Regions from separate parts of the Homo sapiens genome. Here regions 1 and 3 are each linked to region 2. The links are contacts of gene promoters, found by promoter capture Hi-C in blood cells and fetal thymus (Javierre and others, 2016). All regions are on one chromosome and are shown on one strand. Each heading gives the region's core, a stretch centred on a gene start or on the middle of the fragment in contact. The rest is flanking DNA. Distances are from core to core; before and after follow the strand shown. Region 1 overlaps SLC1A2 (solute carrier family 1 member 2). Region 2 holds the start of ELF5 (E74 like ETS transcription factor 5). Region 3 overlaps PAMR1 (peptidase domain containing associated with muscle regeneration 1).

What was found. The method cuts DNA at HindIII sites, captures the fragments that hold promoters and counts their contacts. A CHiCAGO score of 5 or more calls a contact.
Region 1: a fragment that was not itself captured here is called in contact with the fragment with the promoter of ELF5 in region 2 in 1 of 17 cell types (total B cells); the score reaches 5.0 in total B cells.
Region 3: a contact is called between a fragment that was not itself captured here and the fragment with the promoter of ELF5 in region 2, in 1 of 17 cell types (total CD4 T cells). The highest score is 6.3, in total CD4 T cells.

The regions. Positions count from the first base shown.
Region 1 is chr11:35,382,513-35,386,746 of GRCh38, forward strand. The region is part of intron 1 of SLC1A2 (solute carrier family 1 member 2); the gene reads right to left. Among named protein-coding and RNA genes, the nearest start is that of SLC1A2-AS2, 34 kb to the right of the region's middle. The HindIII fragment of the contact is 2,250 bases long and covers 383-2,632 here.
Region 2 is chr11:34,511,009-34,515,060 of GRCh38, forward strand. ELF5 (E74 like ETS transcription factor 5) reads right to left here and starts at 2,786. Exons shown (of 7, transcript NM_001422.4): 1 at 2,669-2,786. The HindIII fragment of the contact is 1,187 bases long and covers 2,357-3,543 here.
Region 3 is chr11:35,485,483-35,490,006 of GRCh38, forward strand. The region is part of intron 3 of PAMR1 (peptidase domain containing associated with muscle regeneration 1); the gene reads right to left. Among named protein-coding and RNA genes, the nearest start is that of PAMR1, 38 kb to the right of the region's middle. RefSeq lists a silencer at 457-506. The HindIII fragment of the contact is 1,017 bases long and covers 2,108-3,124 here.

The sequences.
Region 1 (4,234 bases), core at 258-2,757, 870 kb after region 2:
AGGCTGGGTGCGGTGGCTCACGCCTATAATCCCAGCACTTTGGGAGGCCGAGGTGGGTGGATCACTTGAGCTCAGGAGTTCAAGCCCAGCCTGGCCAACATGGTGAAACCCTGTCTCTACTAAAAATACAAAAATTAGCTGGGCGTGGTGGCAGGTGCCTGTAGCCCCAGCTACATGGGAGGCTGAGGCAGGAGAATCACTTGAACCCAGGAGGCAGAGGTTGCAGTGAGCTGCGATCACGCCACTGCACTCCAGCTTGGGCAACAGAGCGAGACTCAGTCTCAAAAAAAAAAAAAAGTCCTCCTAAAGGGTAGGTGAATGATCTAGATCATGCTTTAGACCTTTAAGGTATTATTGTTTCCAGCTCTCTAGGAGTGAAAAAAGCTTAAATGTTTCTTTTGAATCTGAATCTGAAAACTGATCCTGCTTTTCCTACCTGCACGCTCCAAAAGTTAAAAGCCTACACCATCTAAGAAAATTATCAGACATATAGAAAAAAATACATATGCAAAGATGTTCACAACAGTGTTATGACAGAGGAATTTTAGGCATGTCCAAGAGTAAGGGATCAGTTAAGTCAATTGTATAGTGTAGCCATGACTGGAAAACACTCAAACTGGTAGTGTATTAAAAGTTATGTCAAAAAAGAATATAGTGGGGAAACTCTGGCATAATCCTAAAAGAAAAAAGCATGCCTGAAAATACTATGTTAGTTTGACACAAATTTAAAGGACATAAACTAAAATGACAACAGTAATGGGACCTGGGTAAATTAATTTTGTTATGTTGTGTTGCCTTTTTTCTGCCTTTTTTGGTTGAAAGTATTTTTTGTTGTTGTTATTTTTATAATGGTTATTATGAAAGAAATAAGCCTAAGAAAATGCTATATGGCTTAAGGAGATAAAGATGTCATGGGATTATCAGAGAAAAGGAGAGTACAAGCAGAATGTGCCAGTGGGGAGCCCAACTCTGGAGCTGACTGCTTAGGTTTGGATTCTGGTTCTGCTCCTCACTAGCTATGTAACTAGGGCAAGTTACCCAGATTCTCTGTGTTTCAGTTTCCCTGTCTATAAAACAGGGATGGTAAGAATAGTTCCCACCTCATGGGGTTGTTCTGAAGATCACACAAGCTAACATACATGAAGCATTTAAAACAATGCCTGGCATAGAACAGGTTCTATATAAGTTGTTGCTATCATTATGGAATGAACCACCCAAGAGCAAATACCCTGTCTTTCTCATCTCTGTATTCCCAGCACCTCTCCAAGTGTCTGGCTTACAGTAGATGCTTGATCAATGTCATCTGGGTGGATTCTGGAGGGCAGTGCTGATATTTTGAGGAATGGCCACCATGATACCATCTCACTCAGTACATCTATGGTGTGACATCTCCCTCTAGATCCCTTCCATGGGGTTCTTCATGCTGAACGGATGGCAATTGTTCTACTCGCTTGTTTGGAGTACTGACAGTTAACAAGATAAAAGGGACAGAAACTGTACTGCCACAACACAGCAAAGTTTAGCAATGGCCTGCCATCGCCTCCTCTGTTCCAGCCAGGACTTTTTTGGTTGCTTGAAAGAGAAATACGTTCACCCTAGTGCAAATAAAAGAGGAGAGTATCATATTGCTAAGTATAGATATCTCATGGAATCCAAGAACAAGAAACAAAATAGTAATAGAAGCTGTCTTGTCACATGTAACTTAAACCGGTGAGTGGGTGATTCATCAACGAAGTCAGTGAGATCTGGAAATGACTTTTTTAATGATACCATAATTATATAAATATTTTAACTGAAAGTACAGATCCCATGTGGAATATGGAAGATGACTATTCTCATCCACGCAGGTTGCTCCTGGATTGTCTGAGTTCTGATTTCATCCTTTAATCCCATGAATCTTTAAAAAAGTAATGTACAAATAATGAATGTGACCCTACTCCTTCTTGAATAAGGAAGACCCACTCAGAGGCCATCTGCAAAGCATATGGCCATAATTCAAAATGACAAATACATGTTAGATTTAAGAATCCTTAATGAATCTCAAACAGTTGCAGCTTTAGGCTCAGTGGATTAGAAGATATTGATTCATCATTGAAGATTATTTGCTTGTTGAAGTTACCTATGCATTTCCACTGTGGCATATTCACCAGTATCCCAATTTCTGAATGTTCAGAAGATTCACTGGCTTTAGGGGAAAGGAGTATCATCACAGAAGTTTGGCCACTTATATGCTTGTTCTATTGGACAGTTACACAAAGACTTTGAACCATAGAATTTGGGAAATTTAGAAGGATTTTAGAAACCCAATAATCAACCCCTCTAAAGCCTAGAGAGGTGACAGTAAGTAAGATGCTAAGGCTGGGAAGCCCATGGTCTCAGAGTCTCAGTGCAAGATGGCTTCCCTACACAATTGTGTACCCAAAAAGTAACCATCTGCCTAAATATGACACCACTTGTAGAAAGGCAGTTGGTTAAATTTCCCAGATATATGTGGTTTATACAAAGATAAACTAAAGAAGTGATAAAAATGTATGCATATGCTGACAACATCATACTATATCTGGAGAATACAATTTCTAGAGGCCCCAGAGTGACCCAGTGAGACAGTGAAATAGAAATATTCAAAAATAAAAGCTTTCCCCTCACTGCATTCTAAATTGTCATTGAGAAAGGCCAGAAAATGTCCAAGCTCAAACCATCCCTGCCCTCCCCTCCTTTTTATGAATTAGGGTAACAGATGGCTTTTTCAGTACATAGAAGAGAGGTAACAGCTGTTGATAATCTATGACAAGCACATATCAGATGGTTTTTCCATTTCATCCTCATCACAACCCTGAAAGGGAAATATTATCTCCCTTTTACCAGGTGAGCAAACTGAGGCTCAGAGAAGTTAGGCAATTTCCCCAAGGTCACACAGCTAGTCTGTCTATTTCTAAAGCCTACAGGTTTTGTAGTGTTTTGCCTCCCATTCTCCCTAAACAGAAGAACCTGCAGAGGGGTCTGGGTAGCAGTCAAATGTTCTTTCTCAGAACACCTTACAGCGACATGGTTTGGGACCTGTAAGTTATCTCAGAATACCAATTCCACAATGAGCCAGGCCGGCCATCTGCTTTTCTGACTTGATCTTTCCCCAAGATGTGCTATATCAAAGACAGGGAGCTTGGTTTTATTTTTCTCTGATTGCTTGGATTCTCCTTAGCATCTTCTAACCAATCTTATATCATCATATATTATTATAATAGTATTTTTTTCTTGAGCCTGCAGGTTCTCTGGGTGAAACTATGTGTAGAATTTGGCTCATCAAAGTTAGAAGAATTTAGACAAAGGACACAGGAGCAAGGAACACAGTGAAGCTTTAAAAATAATGACAGTTGGCCCGGCGCGGTGGCTCAAGCCTGTAATCCCAGCACTTTAGGAGGCCAAGGCGGGTGGATCACGAGGTCAGGAGATCTAGACCATCCTGGCTAACATGGTGAAACCCCGTCTCTACTAAAATACAAAAAATTAGCCGGGCATGGTGGCGGATGCCTGTAGTCCCAGCTACTCAGGAGGCTGAGGCAGGAGAATGGGGTGAACCCGGGAGGCGGAGCTTGCAGTGAGCCGAGATGGCGCCACTGCACTCCAGCCTGGGCGACAGAGCAAGACTCCATCTCAAAAAAATAAAATAAATAAAATAAAATAAAATAAAAATAATGACAGTTTTCTTTTCTCTGAACCTTAACCATGTTCCCTGCTATATTTCTTTCACACTCTCAGGTTTGTTTTTTCCATGGAATATCTAAATTCTTAGGCCTATCTTGTCTTCTCTCATTCCTCACTCTTTTATTGTGCCAGAAAAAAAAAGATGTCATTTAAAATAAATATGGTTTCCAGATACCTGTAGACGTTGACACCCTCAGTCACTGCTGTAATGAAATTCAGGGATGTCAGTGTACATCAACAATCAACTGAAGAAAGGTGCCGATGAAAAGGCATCAATATGTTACTACTCAGATGGCTATTTCAAGCATCTTCTTTTGAAAGAAATCAAAAGAACATCAATTTTTATTTTTGAAAATTCAAAAAACCCATCAGTTTAAAAGGTTGTATTTTGAAATCATAACAAATTTCAGGTGATTCAACCTTCAAGCAATATTGATATATGGTTTAGGGATAAATCATTTTAAAAGCAATAGCTAACATACTAAGGGGCTTAATGTGTGTCAGGAACTTCTTCATATAGTTCCTATGCATT
Region 2 (4,052 bases), core at 1,536-4,035:
CTCCAAATCTCAGTTCTTCAACTACTAAACAAGAACACAGATAAAACAGCCCCCAAGGTCTGCCCTAACTCTGTGACTTTCTGCAGACACCCACCTGATTGAGCCAACACATCCAAACCTGGGCACTCACACACATATGCATACACATTGATTATATTTGCATTTTTTTGGTCAAGCAAGTCCACCAAATTGGAGGAAAATCCAACCACTACACACAGACTGAACTTTTAGTGCTGAAAAAGCTCCCTGATTTCCTCTTCTCCCTTTTCTCCTGTGCCCACTGCCTTCTACCCCAGTTGGAGGTAGATACCTCAGGACAACTGGATATTCTTTGCCCAGCCTAGCTGGGTACCTTAAACACTCTGGACCCTCACTCACTGCCCACCGATAGATCCGTGGAAGCTGGAATCAGTTTCCCCCAAATGTAGTCATCATTCTAGCTGCCTAGTAAGTAGGAAAAGCTCAAGAATGATTAACACAAGGTGGTGGAATCAGGTGGGCTCACTTCACACATGAGAAAGTTGGCTGCAGGTACCTGTGGGAGTGAGGCAGAGATGGCATGGAAGCTGAGGTCCCCAGATGCCTCCAGTGGCTTCTGAACCCTTCTCAGAGCTGGCTCACACACCAAATGCACACAGAGAGGGTCCACCGAGTTGGAGGGACAGGCCTGTGGGCTTCTCAGTGTCACACAAATCAGAGGCAGCAATAACAGGTGTGGCTCCCATGGCCTGAGCAACCCGGCACCCCTGCTCAGCCTCCCAGAGAGAGGGGAAGGAGCAAACCACTCAGCCTTGGCCAGTTTGCCAGAGGAGGAAAATTCCTTCCTGACTCTGGTGGTGATCATCAACTTCACTCTGGGCATGTGACCAAAAATTGGCCCAATTAAGCATCTACACATTGGCTGTTTACGGGCCAAATCATCACTGGGCAGAACTAGGCCATAGGGTGCAAAATATAGAAAAAAGTGGCCAAGATTGGGCTTCCTCAACCCCACCCTCTGAGTGGTATCATTGGGAAGAAAATCGGTTTTCCTTCCTTAAAGCCTCAGTGATACCCAAATGTCCACTCCGTCCCAAGACTTGTGAGCAAGGGAGGGTCAATTTCCCAGCCCTTGGACCTCCCTAAGAAGGGGCCCACTGAGGAGAACCCAGTGGAGTATTTCAACACTTACTGCTAAAGAAAGATTGAGGGTTGGGTGCTTGAGGGTTTGTTCTTCTGAGAGGAACCCTAGCAACTGTGAGAACCAATTTGCTGACCTCTTGTCAAGTGATTCCTCATTTTTCTTTAGCTCGCTTAGGGAGTTTGCGTGTTTGTTTGTTTGTAGCTGTTTTTCTGAAGGTGCAGCGAAGATCCAAAAAGGTATGCCATGTAGTTTGCTGTAGGCTTCGATGCAAAGCTTACCAGTTTTGGATTACATATATCAGGGGTTAAATCCTACCTCTGCTGCTGCGAACGTGGGGCACATTTCTTACTACCCAGACTGCTGAAATTCTTAAGCTTTTTTTCATATAGATGTGGTATATAAATATTCATGCCCCTCTTCGAACTACGGTTTCCTCATCTCTAAAATGGGGATTTTTTTTTTTTTAAATCATGCAATCCGATATATGCAAAGGACGGGGCATAATACATATATTCAATCCTGTTTTAGAGGGAAAAATCAGCCATCAACAATGTATCTAAAAATTTGCCACTCTGGTGACTTCTGAAAAAGGGAGATGACCAAACTGAAAACTCCGGCCCGAGAATACCTTAGATTATGAAAAACAGTATTGCAGAGAACACGAAGACAACAGAATCAAGCGTTCACTCGGATGGGCAAACCACCCCTTTCCCTGGGTCTCTGGACTAGACTGAACCACAGAGCTGCCTCCCTAAGTCATCTAGCCTTTCTGGCCTCAGTTTCCTCATCTGTAACATGAAGCGATTGCACCTAGTGATGTCTGACACACTTTCGGGCGTACAAAAGGCATCCACACGCAGGCCCGGCTTCAGCCTGAGGAGGGAGCTTGTGCTACCTGTCGCTGTCAGCAGGGGGCAACCCCACAGAAACCCCACACACTGCAGAGTCTGACAAGGCCTGAGAACACAGTGGAAAAACGCTAACCATTGCTTTTCTGGAAGCATTCTCTTCTGGGGAGATGTCAGAGGGCAAATGGGTTTCTTTTAAAACTGTTTTGTACAAATTCCTGAAAATGCCCCAAACTATAATAAGGGAGTTCTCTGTATCGAGGGGGTGGGGGACAGTGGGCAGGCCGGTGGGGAAAGGAATTCAGTCAGGGGAGAAGGGTAGGTGGGGGGCTTTCCTTGAAGCTGAATATTTTTCTGAGTAAAATCCAGCTTCCCTTCCTAAAGAAGCTTTAGGGAGGATAGAGAACTGAGCGCCTGGGCGCGTTCTCTTAATTCCCCTTGGTTCAGCTAAGGGATCCAGAGGGAGTGGTGGCTGTGAGGAGGGCTGGTGGCCACACGGCCTGCGGAGGCAAGCAGGTCTCTCTGAGGCAAGCCGTCACATCCGTGTCAAACAGCTCCCGGAGGCCCTGGGACTGCACCCAGCGCAGGTGCCGGCCCTGGAGCTGGAGATGGACGAGCAGACCCAGGCCCCAGGCCGAGCCTCTGAGCCCTGACACCCCTTACGATTCATCCAAAAAAGCAAAGAAAAGGCGCTTACGTGAGGGCAGCGGTGGCTAGGTCCAAAGAGGAGGCTTTCAAGGCAAGAGAAGGCAGGCGCTCCCAGCACCAGCGTGCAGTGGAAATAAAGACACCTGTAGCCTTGTGATATAAGTGACACCTACAGACAGGTCCGTTTGGTTTTTCAGGTTTACGCACAGCCCCTTTGATGACGGTGACATACAGTGTGACACGGCTCCTTGGAGGGGGGGAAATGGTTCTCATATGCAGAAAGTTTACCTTTATCCTGCTTTTGTGCGCAGCTCACCCCTGCCCTGCAACCCCCCACTCCCAGCCCAGGGGACTCAGTAAACAAGCAGAAAATTCTTGTCCCTGGGAGCTGTGCGGGGATCGTGCGTTTGGTGAGGAATTTTCCTCTGTGCAAGCTGGAGGGGAAACACAGAGATTCCACCCTGGTGCCGGTCTGCGCTGCCTCTCTCCCAGGCTGGCTGAGCCCAGTGCTTTTGTAAGATCATGTCTTTCTCCGTTTTTCCCATGTGGTGAGAAGGAAGAGCATTATAGGCCCAGTGTTAAGACCTCAGGTTTTGCAGCTAGTTGCCTTTAGATTCAAATTCAGTGTCCATCATTTCCTAGCTGTGCTACCTAGAAAAATGTAGCTAACATCTCTGGGCTTCATGAGTGTAATGTAAGTGATGGGGCCTCTCCTCATGTGGATGCCAGCTCTCAGGTGTCTCGCTGAGAACTGCCCGCTTTTTAGTACTTCTTCGTGACAACAGAAACTCTGCCTAATTTAGGCTGCAAAGCACAGTGTCCCAGGTCATCTATGAGACAGGTATTTATAACCCTGTGCCTTTTTGCATTCTGCTTCTAGCCATCTTGGGCAGCCGAGATGTTGTATTCAAATGGCAGACTCCAAGCTTTAAAGCGAAAGCAAGGACTGGTTTGTTATGTTTTCTTGGGATCACCGGGCATGGTTACAAACACACAAATACAAATACGCATATAGTCTGCAGAAACAAAAGGCAGTTCGTGAGAGGATTCGGGGTGTCATCATGGAAAAATTGTTGAAGGAAGATAGGTGACTGCCTAGACCCCTATCTTGGCTGGGTAACCTGGACTTCTCTGGGCTTCATTTTTCCCCAGTGGCAAAAGGAGGAAGTGGGATTGAAATAGTGATTTTTTTCAAACTGTGACTTGAGGAACCCCAGGGGCTCCCTGGAGCCCTTACAAGGACTTTTGCGGGTGAGAGGATGGGAGTGGAGTAGAGTGGGTTAGGCTCTAGACCACCCCGTTCCTTCCTGACTCAATAAGAGCATCTCAGCTTTTATATAAATCTTCCGGGTAAGATTTCATTTGAACAAAAGAATCTGCCCTTAGAAAGGGTTTGCAAGTAACTGGATTACATGGTCTTTGGGCCTCTTTCA
Region 3 (4,524 bases), core at 1,366-3,865, 970 kb after region 2:
TTACTAAACCAATCTTTCCTGGGCAGAAAGATGTGAATAAGTTCTCTCCTGGGCTCAATAGCCTCAGGCCGTTTGCCCATCCTCCTGGATAATACAACCTGCCAATGGTTATGCATGAATCAATTCCATAATGAATTTTAAGGTTGTCATTAGTTAGGTTAGTAATATAAACATTGTCAAGGACAGTGAGCAAATAAAGGTGCTACTGCATCTGTTCAGTGCCAGATGCTCTCTAACCCACATATAAAACAGCTCTGATCCTTCTGGCACTTGCCCGCCACTCCTCCCTCCTTCTAAGGCTCTGTATGGTACTCAGGAAAAAAAAATGCCCAGGCTCTTCAGAGACACTCAGAAGGAAGCGCCTTCAGGATAACGTTGTCTGAAAGGATCGCTTGGGCGCCATCTAGTGGGAAAATGCTTGCACTGCCATGGGGCTCCGGCGCTGTGTCCCAGCCATATGTAGGCGACCCTTAACGTAGGCAGGCAGCATAGTGCTCAGCACCAGGCAGGCATTCAACAAAGAGTGAAATGAATTACTTCTTCCTATGAATTCCCTACACATTTATTTAGTGCCAGTATGAGGTGAGGGTGATAAGAACCTAATAACATCATATTGATGTCTTCTTATGGTCAAGCACTGTTTTCACAGATGGATTGTAAACTCATTGCGGAATCATTGTGTTCCCTGGTGACCAGCCCAGTGCTCCATAAGAAATGCTCCATCAGTGCTCATGGCAGTGGTAACATACACTGTGTGGAATGAGGCTCTCAGAACAAGCATAACGTAATTGAACAAGCAAAACTGAACCAACACAGATCGGATAGAATCTGACCATTAGTTTGTTTTTTCAATTTCATAGCATTGACCACATTCTATTTTTTTAACTTTAAAAAAAATCTCCTCTCTAAAGCGCAAGCTCTAAGATGTCAGAGACCATGCCCGTCTGGCTTATCATTGTACATCCAGCACCTAGAAGCATCCATTCAAGAAATATCTTTTGACTGGATGGGTAGATTAATGCACGAAGGTGTGAGCTCTCTGTTCTGCCTGCCTAGGTGATAGACTGGTTGCTCTGAGCCAGTTCTGCTGTCCTTGAGAAAGCCTGGACCCTCAAATGGACACAATCACCAGCCCAATCAATGAGGCTCCATAAACAGCGTCTTACACCAAGGTGCAACCCAAGATTTGACCAGTAGGTGCTATTTAAAAAGACACATGCTCAGGATTTCTGAATATTAATATTTTCTGTTTCATAACATTTGGGTGACTGCTATCCTTGTTTTGTTACCATTTGCTGTATTGACTTCTTGCATGCAAATATTCTTTCCTTCCTGTCCCCTGCACCCTGAACAAACCCCCTTACTCACATGGAGCGACTGAAGTATTGTTTAGAAATATTTATCCACCCCTCTTCCTTTGGGATGGCATATACTTCCCTACTTCACTCATTGGGAACTTAGCCATGTGACTTCTTTTGGCCAGTGGAATATGGGTGAGTGTGATGTGCGCAGAGGCCTTATGTGCACCTGTGTGTTTGGCTTGACCTCTTGTGCTTCTGCGACCCACCCTGAGAAGAGCATCCCCTGATGGTTGCTGTCCCTTCTGCCTAAGCCCTGCAGCCTGGAGCACAACCAGCCCAGGTCAGCCCAGTTGAAATCAGTGGAATGCCTGCCAACTCACAGACCCATGAGAAAGAACAAACATTTGTCCTTTGAGATTGTTAGTTACCCAGAAAAAAAAAAAAAAAACTGAACACTTTATCACCACCATCCCTGAAAGCTTCAACTTAGAAACTCTACTCTCTGACCATAATACCCATTCCACCTATGTGTTCCATTACTTCATTACCACCAAGCCTGCTTTTCCACTTAAGACCTCCTGTCCCTATTGCCCCTCTACCAGGCTCTTTCTGATTTCATGTCCTTCCCAGCTGGGATCCTTGGTCAGTCATGTCTCAGCTTATTCTTGGATCAACAAAACAACTGGTTTTACTCCCTTCTGCTGCTGCACTTCCAGAGAGCATCAGCCAACGTCCTAACTGACTGCATCACCTCCCTAGGAACTCTGGCTTCGACTGGGTCCTCCGTCTCGCTTGGATATGCTTTAAGCTTAACACCAGCTGGTGCCTTTTCTTGTTCCTCAAGTGGCTGCCCCAAACCTTTGGTACTTTCAAGCCCCAACCTCACTTCTACTCATTCTCAGCAGATATTTCACTCCCTACTTCCCAGAGAAAACGGGAGAACTCACCAGCAGGAGGCAGACTAGGACTGTGGTTAAGAACAAGAGTAAGGGGTCTGGAATCGTCCTGGGCTTTACCCCAAAGTGTACGGCCTCAGGCAAGTTACTTCACAGCTCTGAGCCTCAGTTTCATTATCTATAAAATGGGAGTATGTATTTTCATAGGGTGATTGTACAGATGAAACAAGACATGGCACATAAAGTGCTCAGCACAGTTCCTACCATATAATTACTAACAAACAAGATATGCTACCTATAAATAATTCTTTTCCTCCTGTCTCAGCCTAGGACAGAAAAGGAAGCTCCCTCTCCTTTAACTCTCACTTTTGTTCTTGATCTCATAGGAAGTTCTTCTCCTTCAGGATAACATGGTCTTAACTTCTTCAGTTAGTCTTACTCTAATATGTAATATTTTTAATCTCTCCTACTGACACTTTACTCACATTAGCTTAAAACCTGTTTAACCCTTTCCCATCTTTTTTTTTTTTTTTTTTTTTTTTGAGAGAGAGACAGAGATGAGGTCTTGCTCTGTTGTTTAGGCTGGAATGCAGTGGTGTAATCATAGCTCACTGCAGCTTCAAAATCCTTGGCTGCAGAAGCGATTCTCCCTCCTCAGTCTCTTGAGTAGCCAGAACTACAGGCATGCACCACCATGCCTGGCTGAATTTTTTTAATATTGTGTAGAAACAGAATCTTGTTTTGTTGATCAGTCTGGCCTTGAACTCTTGTCCTCAAGTAACCTGACTGCCTCATCCTCCCAAAGTGCTGGGGTTACAGGTATGAGCCACTGCACCCGGCCTTTCCCATCTTAATTGGTATTTTTCCACAGCTGTTTATTTACTCATATAAACTATCACCTTAATTCTCCCCTTCCTTGCTTGATTAAGCTTATTTAAAAGAAAGTTGTCTGTATTCTTTTTGTCCATTTTTCACACTTCAAATCTTGCCTTTTTTTTTTTTTTTTTTTTTTTGGAAACTGTCTCACTCTGCCCAGGCTAGAGTGGCAGTGGCATAGCTAATTTTGTATTGTTTGTAGAGACAGGGTTTCACCATGTTGCTCAGGCTGGTCTCGAACTTCTGGGCTCAAGTAATCCACTGCCTTGGCCTCCCAAAGTGCTGGGCTTTCAGGCATGAGCCACTGCGCCCTGCCAAATTTTATATGAAACTGCTATTGCTCAGGTCACCAATCGCATGCTAGCCATCAAACACAAAAACCTCTTTACTGCCTTCATCCTATGTGACCTTTCTGCCTTTGAAACACTGCCCCCAGCTTCCAGAACCCTACTCCTTCCTGGTTCTCCTCCTATCTCTCTATCTTTTCCCATCTCCTTCCTGGTTTTCTCTTCCTTTCCTTTTACATCTGTTGCTATTTCCTCTGCCCATGGTGCTCTGTTCACCTCATGCTTCCATCTATAACAGCCATAGGCATATCTCAAGTCTCCAAAATTCTCTTGAGCTCCAGGCACTTATTTCCTACTGTCTGCAGAGTCTCTTATAGATGTCCAAATTCCAGCTTATCTCATGTGGAACTCACCTTCTTTCCCCCACCAAACCTCTTCCCTTTTATTACTCACTTAACAGCATCAACTTCTAGACAGTTAATCAAACTAAGAATTTGAAAGGCAAACTCTTGAGATTCCTTACCCCATTCTTCAGTGAGTCTTGAGTCCTGTCACTCCTTCCTTTAAGCTCTTCTCACTCTAGTCTCCCTTCTTCATCCCCTGAAGCGCTGCAATCGCACTCCTAATGGCTACCTTTGGATATGGTCTTCCTCCACTCCAGCGGAGTTATGCTACAAGAGTTATCTGTCAAATGGTACTCCCCAGATTAAACCATCCTTCATCTCAGAACCATGTCTAAGCTCTGAGCCCTGGAACACTATGCCCTTCATAGTCAGGGCTTGCCACCCCAAGACCATCACCTTGCTCTAATCATACCTCATGTCACATGCTTCCTTGAACACACCTTGCATTTTCACACCCTGACCATACTATCCCTCTCCCTGAAATATCTTCCTGCTCTGCCAACTGAAGAGCAAAGGCATAGCTCAACCTTCACTTCCTGTCTGAAACCTTACCTCCCTCTCCCTGTCATTAACTGTTCTGTTAGCTAGTTCTCAGAGCACTTGGTCCATCCTCTACTTCACCACTCTTCCTTGGTTCCCCACTGCACTTGCAATAGCATCTAAATTCCTTACCTAGCTTACCTACCTACAAGGCTGTATTAATCTGTTCCCACACTGCTAAGAAAGACATAGCTGAGACTGGGTAATTTGTAAAGGGAAG